2 separate regions of the Homo sapiens genome follow, and region 2 is linked to region 1. Evidence: promoter capture Hi-C in 16 types of primary human blood cells and fetal thymus (Javierre and others, 2016). All regions are on one chromosome and are shown on one strand. Each heading gives the region's core, a stretch centred on a gene start or on the middle of the fragment in contact. The rest is flanking DNA. Distances are from core to core; before and after follow the strand shown.

Region 1 (4,399 bases), core at 1,413-3,912:
CATAAGCCACTGTGCCCCACCCCCCGTATGTTAATTTTATAACTAGTTATCTTAATTTATCTTTTATTGCCTCTAAAAGCTTTTCAGTTGATGCTTTGGAGTTTTCATATTATTTGCAAACAAATGACAACCCTGACTTATTTACAGTACTTAATTTCTTATTTCTATTTTATATCTAATTGCATTGGCTATCGTTTCTATTGTTACAATGTGATGGTGAACATTCTTGCCTTGTACTTGACTTCAATAGGAATAATTATGATGTTATGTTATAAAGGAAGTGGCTGGCTTTAGTATAACATATATATATATTTAAATTATTACAAATTCTAATTTTTATTGGGAATGATGCTGGACTTTACAAAATCCTTTTCAGCATCAACTGAGATCCTCATAATGTTTTCCTCCTTTGACTTACTAATATAATCAAGCATATGAGAAAATTTTCTGTTATTGAACTATTGCCATAACTATACACATGAAATAATTTCTCTTAATTTTGTTATATTATTTGTAATGTAGTGCTGGGTTCCATTTGTTAGTATTGACTTTTACATTATATCCAAAAGGAATTTAACCTGTAGATTTCCCTTGTGTGTACTTTTTAACAGATTGTATTTTAAAACCAGTCTTTCAGCTCATCCAAAACAGAGGGATTACTGGTGAAAATGCCTTGAGGGCAACCACCTGAAATGGCCTTAATAAAAAAAAAAACACGAAGAAGAAAAAGAAAAGGAAAAAAGCTAACAACACTGTGGTTTGTCTACTTTTGCGGAAATTTACAACACTATACTTGCTATACCTTCTTTCTGATGTGAATCCACAAGCTATTGCAGCCATTAATTAAGGATATTGCTTTTCTTTCCAATAAATACATGAACTTTCTTTCAGAGGCAAACAGAGACAGATGTTTCATGAAAGTTTCTGTTCTTCCCAACCTGCCTTTCCTACCTCCCTGATAGATGATCCAGAACATTTAAAAATGGGGGAAGAACTGAGAAAAGGGCTCCAATCATCCACTTGTGTTTCCCATCCAAGGAGCCTGGCCTGTTATTTACTTTCACCACTTATCCCTGCTGCTGCTGTTTAGTTTTTGTTGTTCCCCTCAACTGACTTTCCTCATCTTTGCTGCATTCATCAAAGCCCAGTGTAAATTCCCCTCTTCCATAAACTGAGGAATCCAGCCCATTTTACATAGCAAACTTTCTCTTAGCTGCTACCTACTCAAAGTTTGGCTGCACATTTTAGCTATAATTGTTCTCAAATTGTTTCAAGAGTGCTAGTTTTCTTTCTTAGGCTCCAGGTTAGCTCCTTGGGAGCGGGGACTTAGCTTAAAATCCTGCTGTGTATTTTCCGTTGTGTTTAGCCCTATGAGTAATCACATTCAATGCATACTTGTAAGGCATATTTGACTGAAGATATCTATCATAGTTATTCATTTAGTAAATGATATAATGAAAACTCAAGTGCTCGCCAAAGATAAATCATTACTATTAATTCCCTCATTCATCATACATGTATGGCAGCCTCAGGGGCTAGGGAACCTAGGATTGCTGCTTTGACTTTTTTTGGGGAAGCCAAATAAGCCTCAGATCTCTCCACTTTGGAGCCAGCCATGAAATTCAGATTTACCTAGGGCTCAACATTAAGGGTCTCAGACTAAATTTATCTTCAGGTACCCTTTCCAGAGTGGACCAGTTTACCTTATACCTCTGAGAATAACCCAAAACTTTCAAAACTCAAATCACAGGATATTATTTGTTCATGAATTCAGCAAGACTCTCTTGTTTAACTATTGAAACTCAAATATTTCGGCTTGCAGCAAGGAGGGGTACAGCTGTCTGGATATACCTTGGCCAAATTTCAGTGTATATAGAAAAGTGGGAGGTTATCGACTATGTTAAACCTTTTCCTTAAATTTTCAAACTTCGGGATTATTTTAGTCTCATAGATAAAATAACAAGGCAAGTATTTACAAACTTTTTTCAAAAATATGAGAATTTCAGTTTTCCCTAGGGCATTTGGCGTTGTGCTGTCACCACACTTTTGAAGATAGCTTTACAACCGTGGGAAAACTCACCGGGCTTTTTTCGTTGACCCCGCCATTTCTAAGTTGCTATATTGCTGCAAGGAGCTGGCAAAGCCATGCTCTTCCTCTCCCCCATTCTCCTCTTCCTTTCAAAGACCAAAGCGCCCCGTGAGAATATAGAAACAAGGCTGAGAGGCAGCGAAGAGTAAGGGAGGAGCCAGCACTTACGCATTTTTCACTCTCCTCCTCACTCCCTAGGGTCATAGTTTTGATTCTGAAGTTAGAAGTGTGGGGGTCGTCGGCTGCATTTTCAACTTGGCCTAAAAGTTGGAGTTCACCACACTGCAGGCGCTAGGAACTCTGCCGCTCGGTCACCAACCTGAGCCTCTGGCTAGTCCGAAGAACGCGAAAAGCCAGGCCCAAGGCACTGGTTGTCATGGCAACCGGGGCGCTGGTCTCCCTGGCGACCTCGTCCCTAGGGAGGAGGTGGAGCTGGATGCCAGGCGGGCCAATGAGGTCGAGGGGAGCTCGGGGTGGGAGATCTGCGGTCCTCCCAGTGCCGGGGAATGGTTGAGTGACAGGACCGGGGGGGCGGAGCCGGCGCGGCTGCCCGAGGTGGAGCCCCAGTGGTGCGAGTAGCTCCAGCGGCCACGCTGAGGCGAGGGTGACACACCATGCTCACGGCCCCTGGAGACCGTCGTGCTGGCGAGCCGTGCTCCGTAGCTCCCCGGTCCGCCTCGGCAGCGGTCAGAGTCGCCTACAGGAGTTGAGCCGCCCGCGCCAGAAGGTTTTGGCGAAGCTCTTGGAGAGGCGTCGAGCACAGTAGGGCGGCGGGGGTGCGTTGAGCGCTCGGGGGTCAGGCAGTCGGCCGGGATCGCCGCTGGGGAGCGTTTCCGAGGCGAGGAGGAGGAGGAGGAGATGCTGCTCCTCTTCTCCCCCTCCCCAGGCTCCTTCTACAGCTCCTTCAGCCCACGCCCGCAGCCGCTTGTGGGAGAAGTGGTGGTGGCTCTCGGCGCCCGCGGCGGCTGCCGGCGGCCCGCCCCGACGCCGCGTCCCTGCAGCCCTCGCCCGGCGCTCCAGTAGCAGGACCCGGTCTCGGGACCAGCCGGTAAGGACGAGAGCCGCCCTGGGCTCTGCGCTGCATGTGCAGAAGTGCAAAACAAAGTACATTGCGCTCGTTCTCTTCCTCCTCTCTCTGCTTTCGCTCCAGTCCCTAAACCCAACTCCTCGGTTGCCCTGGTAGAAGGAACTTTTCTTTGGTTTTGGTGGTGGGTGTTTTTGTACGTTAGAGTGGGGGTGGGGTGACTGGAGTGGGGAAGAATGAGATGAAACTCCATTGCTAATTAGGTAGATCCATCTCCTCTGCGGAAGAAAGCCGGATTCTCGGGAATGAAACCCACAGGGGGAGTAAGAGATTGTGGGGTAATAGGGAGTGACATTGCCCCGTCGTGCTTGCACAGCTCCGCTCTGTGCGTGCTTAAGGGAAGGGCTCCCGGAGTCTGTTTCTAATTTCTGCAAATGATTGTGGAGATGGTGTGGTTAGAGGCCGCCCAGAAGAATGTGTGTGTAAGGGCTCGAGAAGGGGGTGGGATGGCGGGGAAGCAGAGGAAGAGGGGGCAGAGGGAGAGACACTGTCTGATGCAAGGTCTTTTATTGCTTTTCTTCTGCTTGCTAAAGTTAACACTCTACCCTCCGGCCCCCTAGCCCCACCGCTTTGCTCATTACGTGATACTGTAAGAGCAGACAGCTGGGAAGCTAAAGTTAAACCAAAGTCAAGAAAATTCTTACAAAGTTTAATTTCCTTCTGTTGTGAATATAATGGAGAGAGGAGGATGGGGAGAAATATCACTAAGAGATTTACAGCAATACAGTTTTCATTGGCCATACACGTATATGATCGACACCACCGCACACTTCCAACTAATCTGTTCGACAGCCTTGTGTCATTTTCATTTAATTGCATCTTTGAAACAACAAACGCGGTGACTTCATAGGGAGCTGCCTGGAGCTGAGCTCCCTCGCAGAAAATGGGGCAATCGGGTTTGTTTTCAAGGCAGGACCTGAACAAAATGTAGGACACCTGATCTGTGGGATGAAGGGCGCTGGTAACTAATTATAAATTTTAAGATTTTAAAATTTATATCTAGAAAGTTTACTAAAGGATGGGGGGGGGAGTAAAAGTGCATGTATTATGAAACAAGCTTAGGTATTTTCCTAAAGTCTTCATGACTGTGTTGGCAGGGTCCAGGTGAAAACTTGCTTCATGCTCATTGGCTGCTTGTAGTGGTGCCAATATACAAATTATTTCTCGTTTTAATATCACTAGGAGCATTTGTTAGTAAATTCATACATATATTGATTTAGTAAATT
Region 2 (4,548 bases), core at 425-2,924, 230 kb after region 1:
CACCTCAGCCTCCCAAAGTGCTGGGATTACAGGCATGAGCCACTGTGCCCAACCATGTGTCAATCTTTAGAAAGTGAAAATACAGGGCATTCCATTTTTAACCGTATGTGTGTTTTAAATTCTTTCCAAGCTTGTGTTACATCTATAATCAAAATGATTTTCAATTTCTTAAAAATAATAATCATTTGAGAAAACTGCCCCATTTATTATAAGAGCTATTTGTTCTCCTCTCAGTGCACCTGAGGACCTGCCCAGAGTCAAGAAGTCACATAGGTCTGCGTCACCCTGCAGTATGAGGTGACATCTCCTCTACTTAGAGTTCTAACTCTTGTTCAATTAAAATCCACAACGTGGCTGGGCGCAGTGGCTCATGCCTGTAATCCCAGCACTTTGGGAGGCTGAGGCGGGCAGATCACTTGAGACCAGGAGTTCGAAACCAGACTGGCCAACATGGTGAAACCCCATCTCTACTAAAATACAAAATATTAGCCAGGCATGGTGGCACACACCTGTGATCCCAGCTACTTGGGAGGCTGAGGCAAGGGAATCACTTGAACCCAGGAGGCGGAGGTTGTGGTGAGCCGAGATTGTGCCACTGCACTCCAGCCTGGGCAACAGAGCAAGACTCTGTCTCAAAAAAAAAAAATCCACAACATAAGGATAAGTTCCCCTAATGAAGGATTTTACCTACTGCCAGGTACTATTTGCTGCATGGGAAGACAAGAACATACAAGGCAGCTCATTGATACGTTATGTTAACCCCCAGAAGAAACTCCCTGAAATGGGAATCTCCAAAAGTGATCCCATCACAATTCACAATCCACATGAAAATATAAATATTCTAACATTGAACACTTAAATATTCACACTGGCCCTACCAACAAGATTCATGTGTCAGCTGCACACTGTCTTTACTGGCCACTGAAAAAGAAGGGGGCCAGTCCAGCCAGCTAGTCCCTGCTATTCACATGAAGTGATGTGGCCAACTGGCTCGAGAGCCCTGTGGCAATCCATTGGCCCTGGTGGCCCAGGAGTGATGGCACCTTCTTCATTCACCTCCAAGAAGGCATTGGTCTCTCTGGAAGAAGTCGATTTCCTCGTATGGCAGACTTCTGTGCAACCTGAGTTCTTTTTTCCATGTTTGTTCTTCAATCTCCTCTTGTACGTCTGATATGCTAGGTGTTAAAACATACAAGTATTAACAATCACTTTAACAAAGAGTCTAATTTGGTGACACTGTACACTTGTCAATCCTTCAGGTGTTTGTTTCAGTGGCATCATGTATGTATAAACACCCAGGGAAAAGAAGGGGGAAAGAGAGAAAGCTATAGAACAGAAGGATTCAGTGTATCAGAATGGCTCTTTTGTCTGGATGAACCATTTGTGATTGAGGCTCATTCATCAGGTTGCTGACAGCTTACACACTCATATATTCATTCATTCATTCATTCATTCATTCACTCATTCAGCTAGTCAGCTGGCAAATACTGCGAGTGCTTACTAGAAGTAGGACACTCTCCTGGGTTCTGGGCTAGAGCTGGGAATGAGCCAGAAATGATGCTTGCTTCAGTCTCTCCATGAGAAGGAAAGAAAACTTGGGTCTGAGACCAAGAGTTTGACTCTAATAGGATTTATCTTATCTGTTGGGGAAATTAAGCCCCAGGTATTCCTGATATTGTTATATTGATTGTTATATCTGTAATCAGTATATAATAATAACAATCAGCAATCAGTATATAATCAGTTCTATCAGTAATCATTGAGTCTTACTCAGACCCAATTCCCTAACAGCAGCAAAAATTTACCATGGCCCAAGATTAAAATATATATGTGTATGTGAACATATATATTTTTTTTTTTCTTTTTCGACTTTTAGATCCATGTGCATGTTTGTTTCCTGGGTATATTGTGTGATGCTGAAGTTTGGGAAACAAATGATCTTATCACGCAGGTAGTGAGCACAGTACCCAACAGTTTGTTTTTCAACCTTCGCCCCCTCCCTCCCTCTTCTAGTAGTCCCCAGTTTCTATTATTGCCATCTTTATGTCCATGAGCACCCAATGTTTAGCTCCCACTTGTAAGTGAGGTATTTGGTTTTCTGTTCTTGCATTATATATATTTTTAAATTTACCCTCTGTGAACAAACATAATAAAAGACTCCAAAGTAATGTATATTTGGCTGCAATCACATGTGCATACACATATATATTTCAATATTTGTATATGTGTAATATTTAATATTTGAAAAACATTTCACAGCCATTCAGCACAAGTCTTAGTCACAGAAACATTGAAATAACTTGGCATTTGGGAGACCTCAAGGCTTTTAATGAGACCTAACAAATCAACGCTTAAGTGCAGCAAATGTCACTTTGGAGCTCAATGATTGCTCATAGAGATCTTGTCTTAACAAGTTACGAAGTCTAAGTTCTGATAGTGGATTCACTTTTGTGAAGTATATTTGTTTATAATTATAAGCTCATTTTCAGATGGCTTTTTATATTTTTCTGTGAAACTCCCACTTGTGCGCCAAACTATCCTGTCTATGTGCCTTATCGTCCCCAGAAATGTCAGGCTTTCAAAAAGTGTATCACAGGGGCAGCACATGCAAGTTTGGATTGAAAAAAAAGTTGGTAAGTTGGGGTGAACAATTTCCCGTCAGTTATTTCCTACCCAATGGGTGTTCACCCACCTGCAACAATAAGAAATCCATCTATCAGCTGGAAGAGTCCATAGGCCAGTGGGAAACTCAACATCTGGACCAAGTGCTCAGCAGTGAAAGATAACTGGAGCATGGTGATGCACATCTGAATATTCTGAGCTCCAGTTTCTAAGGAAATTGTCCTGCACCTACCAAAAAGAAAATGTTTCAAGAGTAACGCACTAGCAATAAGAACTATTCTAATATTTTCTCATATGCATCATAACAATTAGAAGCTATGACCTCAGGCCACTGAAAATGTGTACTCATTCCATAGTTATTTGCTGAGTGCCTATTCTGCAGGTGGTCTTCTGAGAGGCACGGTGGAGTGAGGCTTTGCAAACCCTGCCCTAGGCATCTGAGTAAAAAGACAAGATAAACACACAGGAGAGGTTCAGCAACAACACAAGACAAAGTATGGCCAAAGGCCACGCAGATGTAGAAATTTAGAAAATGGCAGAAGGGGTGAGAGAAGGCTTCACAGAGGAGTGGGATTTAAGGATGGAAAAAAATAGAAGAAGCTTTTGATGAGGGGGAAATATTATAAAAATTAAAGTTCCAGGGAGAGGTGTGAGTGTGGCCTGTTCAGCAGGCATTGCATATACTGTAAGCCAATCTGCAGAGAGGAGAGGACTGGAGGAGACAAGAATGGAAAGTTGAGTTAGAGATATGATGCAGGACATGGTGGCTCATGCCTGGAATCCCAGCACTGAGAGGCAGAAGCGGGAAGATTGCTTGAGCCAGGAATTCAAGACCACCCTGGGCAACAGAGTAAGACCCTGTCTCTACAAAAAGAAAAACGTATATATATTTTTGAAAGACATATGAAACAATATAAACTAACCAACACTTAAAAACAAATAAACAAGGCCAGGCACAGTGGCTCACGCCTGTAATCTCAGCACTTTGAGAGACCAAGGTGGGTGGATCACCTGAGGTCAGGAGTTCGAGACCAGCCTGGCCAACATGGTGAAACCCTGTCCCTACCAAAAATACAAAAATTAGCCTGGCGTGGTGGCACACGCTCCTGTAATCCCAGCTACTCGGGAGGCTGAGGCACGAGAATCACTTGAATCCAGGAGGCAGAGGTTGCACTCCAGCCTGGGCAACGAGGTCTCAATAAATAAATAAATAAATAAATAAATAAATAAATAAAAACACAAAAACCCTGAATAAAGACCAAATTCCTAAAATGATTATCTTTGGTGAAAGAGTTTGGTAATAATTTTTCTTTTTGCTTTCTACTTTTCTATACTTTATTGGTTTTCTGGTTGCATAAAATGAAGTAAACCTCATTTGAAAAGACAAAGGAGGGAATAGAGGGAAGACCTGGGCAGGATGTTGAGGGCTGAGTTAAGCAGTTTCACGTCTCCAGTTTATAAAGGGAGCCTGCAGTGTTTTATATGTGGAAGTGAGGAGATAAAAGAGGTGTTTCAGAAAACAAACAAGCACCTCTGTGCAAGCTGGACTGGAATGGGGAAGTAACAAGGGTGTGTAATGAGGGGGTGAAAATGCTGTCAATGGTACAGGGCAAGCTCTGTGTTCATACGTTATTTCTACTTATTCTATTGCTTGCTACACTTGTCTCAAACCACCCTCACTTCTTTGAGACTTTTGTCAAAAACTCGATATGATTAAGCTACAAAGCTGGAACTCACACCTGCACCATTCATGAGCCAAATCTCAGTCCTGGGCTTTGTCAGGCTATCAGGTATGAAAAAGATGGGATTGTGGACTACATCTTGCCATAGGAGTACTTTCTGTCCAGAGCCAATTGCATTTCAACCACTCAACAGACTGTGTTCCTAATTGTTAAATTTGGAAACAAACCCAGGTCCAAATCCTAA

The links. The method cuts DNA at HindIII sites, captures the fragments that hold promoters and counts their contacts. A CHiCAGO score of 5 or more calls a contact.
Region 2: a fragment that was not itself captured here is called in contact with the fragment with the promoter of PTPN13 in region 1 in 1 of 17 cell types (megakaryocytes); the score reaches 5.9 in megakaryocytes.

The regions. Positions count from the first base shown.
Region 1 is chr4:86,591,653-86,596,051 of GRCh38, forward strand. PTPN13 (protein tyrosine phosphatase non-receptor type 13) reads left to right here and starts at 2,663. Exons shown (of 48, transcript NM_080683.3): 1 at 2,663-3,137. It also overlaps a transcript of MAPK10 not described here. RefSeq lists an enhancer at 2,314-2,900. The HindIII fragment of the contact is 4,151 bases long and covers 78-4,228 here.
Region 2 is chr4:86,822,728-86,827,275 of GRCh38, forward strand. SLC10A6 (solute carrier family 10 member 6) reads right to left here. Exons shown (of 6, transcript NM_197965.3): 5 at 2,693-2,850; 6 at 741-1,175. The coding sequence ends at 961. Among named protein-coding and RNA genes, the nearest start is that of SLC10A6, 24 kb to the right of the region's middle. The HindIII fragment of the contact is 3,092 bases long and covers 129-3,220 here.